2 separate regions of the Homo sapiens genome follow, and region 2 is linked to region 1. The links are contacts of gene promoters, found by promoter capture Hi-C in blood cells and fetal thymus (Javierre and others, 2016). All regions are on one chromosome and are shown on one strand. The core of a region is centred on a gene start or on the middle of the fragment in contact, and the rest is flanking DNA. Distances in the headings are between cores, read along the strand shown. Region 1 holds the start of ESF1 (ESF1 nucleolar pre-rRNA processing protein). Region 2 overlaps MKKS (MKKS centrosomal shuttling protein).

Region 1 (3,766 bases), core at 1,262-3,761:
CTATGAAAATACTTATTAATGTGTTTACATTTTTGAAAGATCAGTATAAAAATAAATAATGTAACACCCAAGAATCTCTAATTTTTTCCAACCTACCTGATTGCATTTCTCTTCTTGTCTTAGAACACTCGATTCTGGGAGATTTCACAATTTCAGAGGTGCCTGAGTCTAATGTCCTTTGTTTTTCTTCGAGAGAAGAGTCTGTAGTATGTTGAACAATGTTTTTTTTCTCTTTCTTATTTTTTTGTGTAAATTCTTTGCTATCCTTCTTCGGACTTATGTTTGAATCTATCTTAAATTTACATGAGGTTTTCATTTTTTTAATTCCTATAGAATTATCTAAATCAGTTTTATTTTCAGAACCCTTGTGATTAGCCTTCTTGGTTTCTTTCTTTTTCTCAACTAGATTTTTTGAATCGATTTCTTTTTTAGTCTGGGTTTTTTTCTTCTTTATTTTCTTTTGACTCAATGCTTTGCTATCTTCACCAGAGAGATTGGAATCAGAATCTGAAAGGTCGTAAAAACGCTTCAAATCCTCTGTAGTGCTATGGCTAATGGGGCGCCCTCTTTTATCCACGGCATAGTTCAACTTGAACTTCTTGTCATGAAACATGGCTCGAAATCTCTTGTCAATTTTGACTTTTCGATCCTTTTCTGGCATTTCCCAAAATCTCGGGTCCTTTGCAACCCGTCTAAACCGCTGGTCACTCATTATTTCTTGTTTGGATGACATTTTTAATTCTTAATCTCGACCAAATGCTTGAAGAAAACAAATACTGAAAAATAAAACAAATGTTTTAATGGTAATAATGGTTAGTACAATAATTAAATGTTTTAAAACACATTCACAATATATTCTAAGTTAATATATTCTAAGTTAAGTGTACATAAAATAGAGGTAACAAGTCTAATTTCATCTCTCCAACGTATTCTGGGTCACATGCAAAAAAGCAGAAACATACCAAAATATCCTCTTTCCATGACAGATCATTTAGAGAAATAAACTTAAGGTAGACAAAGCAGAATCCCAGGGCTTTATGGAGGGGAACAAATGTTTATTCATCCATTGCTCTCACTTAGAATTTCTATTTGTATACCAGTATGTGTTACTAATTGAAGGCAAATGTAGTTAAGATTCCCTAGGCCGAGTGCGGTGGCTCACCAGCACTTTCGGAGGCCAAGGCGGGCGGATCACTTGAGCCCAGGAGTTCAGGACCAGCCTGGGTAACATGGTGAATCCCCACAAGAAATACAAAAATGAGCCCGGCATGGTGGCGCGCGCCTGTAGTCCCAGCTACTTTGGAGGCTAAGGCAAGAGGATCACTTCCACCCGGGAGGTCTTGGCTAGAGTGAGCCTAACGGCACTACAGCACACCAGCTGGGGCAACAGAGTGAGACCCTGTCTACCAAAAAAAAGTAAGAAAGAAAGATTCCCTAGCCTCCGTTGGCCTCATTTGTTTCTTCACATTCTGGTCTCATTCTGCTTACTCCTTATCTCCGGCTACTGCCAACAAACAGCCTTTAGTTCTGTAAGACTAGCATTCTAACTAAACAGACCAAAATCAACTCAGGTTTAGCTAAGAAAGTTTCCTTTTTAAATTCGATCATCCTTCAAAAGTAATAAAAAGTTTAAAAATAAAAAGTAAATTTGAGTCTCCAGGTAAAGTCTCACACCAGTTAATAAATATCACTTCTTTCTATAATATCTGATTCTACCAGTGATGAAGGCCCAAGTGAGCTCATTCCCCCAAAACATACTAGAACATATACATATGTGTGTATAAATTAATATTGTTCCCTTGTGAAAAGTCTCCAATGGTTTAGCATCTCTGGATGGGAATTTTGCAAAGAGCCAAAAGTCGTTGATTATTAAGCAACCCCCCCCCAAAATGATTAAAAGGGCAATATTTCTTATTTAAAAATCAAGTCCTTTTAATTACACTAACTAGGAAAAAAAAGGAAGCTATCGCTGGTGCATTTACACATTTTTCGATGTATTACAGCACTTAACTCTCTGAGCAATCTTACGAGGTAGGTACCACCTCAACCAGGAGAAGTACTGCATGTATTGTAAATGTTTAGAAGGAAAGCACTCATTATATGTCAGATAATCCGAGAGAGGGGAAGGCGACCGGACCTCACTCCCGACACGCGCCCGCATCCCCGTAGCCCACCCTCCCCTTCTGCCCGCTCTCTAATTCGGAGAACACAGGGCTGGCCCCTGAACTAGGGTCTCCTTTCCACCTCCTGTACCGCAGGGGGGCAGCTAACAGACTGATTCGAGAAGCGACCCTGAAAAGGATCGATGAAGACTGAAGAATGAGACCGAAAAAGGCTCAGGAGGAAGGGGCAAAACCCCTCGCAGATCCGAAAGAGATCCTGTTAGAGACTAGTTTTTTCCCCGCGCCACACACACACACGCCCTCAAGCCCTTCATCTCGAGCTCTTCAACTCCAGTCCATCCCCACTCACCGTCCGCAGTCCTACCAAGCCTCACGTGGGGCTCACACCCACAATCCTCCGCGTGACGCTCCGCCGTAATGGCAAGCGAACTAGGCCAAACTACTTGCACGTTCCCTCGAGAAGATCTTTGGAGTAGACACAAAAGCCGCGCTGGCGCATGCGCACAAAAAGCGCCGGCAATTGGGGTCGCAGCTGGAGATGCTGCGGCCGGCAGGGCTCTGGCGCTTATGTCGGCGACCTTGGGCGGCGAGGGTCCCAGCGGAGAATCTTGGCCGTAGGGAAGTCACCTCTGGTGTCTCTCCCCGCGGTAGCACCTCGCCCAGAACCCTGAATATTTTCGACCGGGATTTGAAAAGGAAACAGAAGAACTGGGCAGCCCGGCAGCCCGAGCCGACCAAATTTGACTACCTGAAGGAGGAGGTGAGCCCGCGGGGCGGCGGGGCGGCGGGGCGGGCGACGCGGAGGCTTGTTTTCCTCTCCGCTAGTTCCGGCTAGGCCCCGAGCTCACCCCACCTAGCCGTCTGACCTTGACCAGCAGCCCTGCCTCTTTCGGCCTCTACTGTAATCACGCAAGGCCTGGCCTCGGATATTTGTAACATGCTTTCATTCATTCATGCATTCATTTCGGCAACGTCCTTGAGGCTGAAAGGACCTTATAGAGGCCTCCAGTGAAGCTCCGGAGAGGGAGAGAGTGGGAGAGAAGGTTAGGAGGACCCAAATCATCAGGGCCTTGCAGGATAGGGACTTGGGGTTTTCTTCTGTATCTGCACTGTCCAGCCAGTATGGTAACTGCCGGCCACACATGTGGCTGTTGAACACTTGAAAGGTGACTAGTCCAATTGAGATGTGTTGTAAAATACACACGAGTATAGTGACTTAGTATGAAAAAAGGATGTAAAATAGCTCATTAAGAGCTTTTATATTGATTACATGTTGCAGTGATTATTTTTGATATATTGGGTCACATGAAATATATTAAATATAAATTTAAATTTTTCAATTAAAATTTCTCTCGTTTTTACTTTTTTTCTTATGTGGCTACTAGAAAATTTGAAATTACATATGTGGCTCTCATGATTTTTGGTCAGCACTGCTCTAGGGGAATGTGAAGCTCTTGTTTTAATCAGTGGAGTGATCTGACTTATGTTTTAGGAAGATCAAATTAAGATTTCTGATTTGTCTTGGCTCGTTTGAGAAACCTTTCTCCCTGCCCAGGTGAGCCAGAGACTGAGGGTTTCTACTTTCAGGACACGCATTCTCAAGTTCAGGCCTCAGTAAATTTTTATTCAGGAGTGGAACAAAG
Region 2 (4,124 bases), core at 778-3,277, 3.4 Mb before region 1:
AACATTACCTGCTGGAAAAGCTATATGAATCTTTGAAAACACACATGCATGGAGTGTTCTTTAAATATATTAATGTTCTCTGAGCCACAATAGAGTAAGAGCCTTTTTTTAAATTATATTTTTTAAAAATTATAATTACAGGCTGAGGGTGGTGGCTCACGCCTGTATTCCCAGCACTTTGGGAGGCTGAGGCAGGCAGATTGCCTGAGGTCAGGAGTTCGAGACCAGCCTAGCCAACACAGTGAAACATCGTTTCTACTAAAAGTATTAGTCGGATATGGTGGCGCATGCCTGTAATCCTAGCTACTCTGGAGGCTGAGTCAGGAGACTTGCTTGAACTTGGGAGGTGGAGGTTGCAGTGAGCCAAGATCATGCCACTGCACTAGGCAACAGAATGAGACTCCATCACAAAAAAAAAAAAAAAAAAATTACATTTAGTCACAATTTTAACAGAAGAATCAAACGGTAATCCACAAATATGCAGTAAGAATTTAGGTTCTATATTCTGACAGGATGTAGTGATAGTGTTTCAACTGCGATTGCAACAGCTGAACATGGATTCCAATTGCAGTAAAAGATTTCTGGCTTGAACGCTACAAATCAGAATGAATGTAATGCCATTTCCACATTTATGTGCAAAACTACTGCATTTTAGAGTGTTTGCCCTGAATCACTAGAAAACCCTAACTTACAGGGTTATCGACCTAGTTTAGACAAAGAAACTGGGGCTAGACAGTTGCCTGGAGTTACAAAGTTAGTTAGCTTTTAAAATATATATATATATATTTTAAATTTGGAAAGGATGGAAGTAGGGCCCAGAAAGATGCTATGTTTGATGATCTGTTGGGTTTGGGAACTTGAATCTGGACAACCTCTAAAGACTCCTTATACTCTTAATAAGGACTGCTCCACCATCTATGAGACATGCTATGAACTTGGCTCAATTGCATCTCTGAGTTTTAGTACCATGAAATCTCCTAAATTACTTTATTTTTGTCTAAATGCCATTAGAAAAAGGTCTGAAAAGAATTTCTTATTCCCCCTTTTAAGACCAAAACACAATAGTACTGAGTTAAATAGTCTGAACCATCTGTGTTCTGTGTATACATACTAAAAATAATAAAAGATGTTATCTTATAGCTATGAACATGTTATTCTTAGCATTATAAATCATTTCTCCCAAAGGTCTCAATTCATATTTTATAAGGACTTTGTGGCAAAATTTTAATTACTAGATAGAGGAAACACGACCTGCTTTGTAAATGAAAGTATTTTATGGCCTTTTCCTTTTCTAACGTACTGTGGTATACTATATACTTTTTGTAACCTTTAGAGAATACACCTTTTATTGACATGCTTATGTTCCATTTTTAGAGGGAATCAATTACAAATAACTGTATCATAATTAAATTTCATTGTGAAGTCCAAAGGCAAAAGCCTTTGGGAATTTAAGGGTACAATAAAATAACTGGGGGAGGAATTTAGAGTAAGGAGGGAAGAATTCTATTAAGGGCTACTTACTTATAGGAGGGACAGAGGCTGCACCAAAGGTCAGCTGGCCTGTGTTGATTGACATATGGCATTCTTGTTTGCAAACACCTTAACTAAAGGCCTAGAAGATACTGTTATTTATATCCAGTCTCAATACTTAAGGTGACTTTGGCACCTCTATTCCCCTCAACATGAGGTTATCAAGTTATATTATCTTTTTTTTTTTTTTGTGAGACAGAGTCTTGCTCTGTCACCCAAGCTGTAGTGCAGTGGTGCGATCTCAGCTCACTGCAAGCTCCGCCTCCCAGGTTCACGCCATTCTCCTGCCTCAGCCTCCCGAGTAGCTGGGACTACAGGTGCCCGCCACCACACCTGGCTAATTTTTTGTATTTTTAGTAGAGACAGGGTTTCACCGTGTTAGCCAGGATGGTCTCGATCTCCTGACCTTGCGATCCGCTCGCCTCGGCCTCCCAAAGTGCTGGGATTACAGGTGTGAGCCACTGCGCCCGGCCCTTCAAGTCACATTACTTTTAAGAGCCATTTCTGCCATTCACCATTTACTTCTCCATGATCATTAACATAATTCAACATTTGTCAGCTTTTTTCTGAACTATAAACTCAAGGAAAAAAAACCCTAGCTTATAAAAAGAGATTAGGGCCAGGTGCAGTGGCTCACAAAAGTGTAATCCTAACACTTCGGGAGCCTGAGGTGGGCGGATCACTTGAGCCTAGGCAACGTGGCAAAACCCGTTTCTACAAAAAATACAAAAATTAGCTGGGCATGGTGGCGCACGCCTGTAGTTCTAGCTGCGTGGGGGGTGCTGAGGTAGGAGGATCGCTTGGACCTTGGGAGGCTGAGGCTGCGGTGAGCTGAGATAACACCATTGCACTCCAGGACAGGTGATGAAATGCGATCGTTTCAAAAAAACAAACCAAAAGCAAAAAAGAGACTGGATAGGATAAAAGGATGTAATAATAAAATTGAGATTTGTAACTCAAGAACTAAAATTAGGAACAAATTAAATGACAATCTGTAACACTAATGTTTGGGGAAGTGTTGTACTATTCTCTCCAGCAAAGTGGTTAACAGCATGTAATGACATAGTATGAACCCTCTTTGAGAAGAGTGAAAATTATATAGGGTTAGCTCCCTATAATACTTAGTGAATCTTTAGGTCATCTCCCAGTTAAAGATAAAAGAAATGCTCAATTTTATGTATATTGTGCTTAACAGTCTATTACTCTTTCCATTAGGATAACTTAAGGATCGATGAATCTTTTTCTAGATTTAGGTTTAGTTAAACCTGGAAATCAGTATCTATTTTAACTGAAAACTCTATTTGCTAAACATCACTGAGACTCAGTACAGTATTTCCTGGTTAGTAAATGATGTAGACTGATTTAATGATTAATTGCTTTAATGTTTACTGAACATCTACATGTCCCCACTTCCTCAAATTCTCCATATCTCATATATTGATTTGGCTAATGGGGGTGAGAGAGCAAGTAACTATTTTCTGACAGATAATTCTGTTGTCCTTTGAGAGGCTTGGGAAATGATTAGGATCAGTATGGAAGGGCTTTTCACGTTACAAACTATTTTTAGAGTTTTCATTTAATTCACATAAAAACAATAAGTATCACACTGTACATATAATAGTCCCTTTTCACTGAGCAAGATGGAATTAGCACTTTAAAATGACATTGGCATATAATGAGACCTCATCTCTATTTTAAAAGAAAAAAATATATATTAAATAAAAAGGAAAAAAAAAGGCCAGGCACAGTGGCTCACACCTGTTACCCCAGCACTCTAGGAGGCTCAGGCAGGGGGACTGCTTGAGCCCATGAGTTCGAGACTGCCTGGGCAATACAGTGAGACTTCATCTCTATTTTAAAAGAAAAAACATATATTTTTAAAAAATGACATTGGCATATAACTTTAAACTACTTCATTTCTTTCACTTAATAGTGAAAAATCTCCAGTACATTGGATGTATTCTATTGCCTGCATAACCTCTTCTCAGGGCAAGACACATTAGACCTTACTATACCTTACTAGCAAAGCTCATTGCTAGTTTTACAAAAAAAAAAATAGTTTTCAAATTTTATATTTGATATGGTAGTTAGCGAGGTAATGTGTTATTTATTTTGTTTATAAACTCTTGCAGAGCTTTTACTTACAATCAAACATATTTTGGGGATACAATTTAAATTTAGCACTTTTTTTCTTCTTAGTTCCTCTGTGGTTTTTTACAAAATGAAAATTAGAGCAGGGCACGGTGGCTCATGCCTGTAATCCCAGCACTTTGGGAGGCCGAGGCAGGTGGATCACCTGAGGTCAGGAGTTTGAGACCAGTCTGGCCAACATGGTGAAACCCTGTCTCTACTAAAAATACAAAAAATTAGGCTGGTGTGGTGGCAGGCGCCTGTAATCCCAGCTACTCGGGAGGCTGAGGCAGAAGAATCACTTGAACCTGGGAGGCGGAGGTTGCAGTGAGCCAAGATCATGCCATTGCACTCCCACCTAGGCAACAAGAGCTAAACTCCGTCTCAAAAAAAAAAAAAGAAAGAAAGAAAATTAGCATTACTGTTCTTTTCTAATAAATATAGTATAGTATAACCTTACTTTT

The links. Contacts are between HindIII fragments. The CHiCAGO score rates a contact against its expected background, and 5 or more counts as called.
Region 2: a fragment that was not itself captured here is called in contact with the fragment with the promoter of ESF1 in region 1 in 2 of 17 cell types (total CD8 T cells and non-activated CD4 T cells); the score reaches 10.2 in total CD8 T cells.

The regions. Positions count from the first base shown.
Region 1 is chr20:13,782,408-13,786,173 of GRCh38, forward strand. ESF1 (ESF1 nucleolar pre-rRNA processing protein) reads right to left here and starts at 2,512. Exons shown (of 14, transcript NM_001276380.2): 1 at 2,473-2,512; 2 at 97-776. The coding sequence starts at 733. NDUFAF5 (NADH:ubiquinone oxidoreductase complex assembly factor 5) reads left to right here and starts at 2,621. Exons shown (of 11, transcript NM_024120.5): 1 at 2,621-2,883. The coding sequence starts at 2,662. RefSeq lists enhancers at 2,557-2,846, 2,842-3,531. The HindIII fragment of the contact is 9,427 bases long and covers 1-3,766 here.
Region 2 is chr20:10,421,008-10,425,131 of GRCh38, forward strand. All of the region lies in intron 1 of MKKS (MKKS centrosomal shuttling protein), which reads right to left. All of the region lies in intron 1 of LOC128706665, which reads right to left. The region is part of intron 1 of LOC128706666; the gene reads right to left. Among named protein-coding and RNA genes, the nearest start is that of MKKS, 11 kb to the right of the region's middle. The HindIII fragment of the contact is 8,150 bases long and covers 1-4,124 here.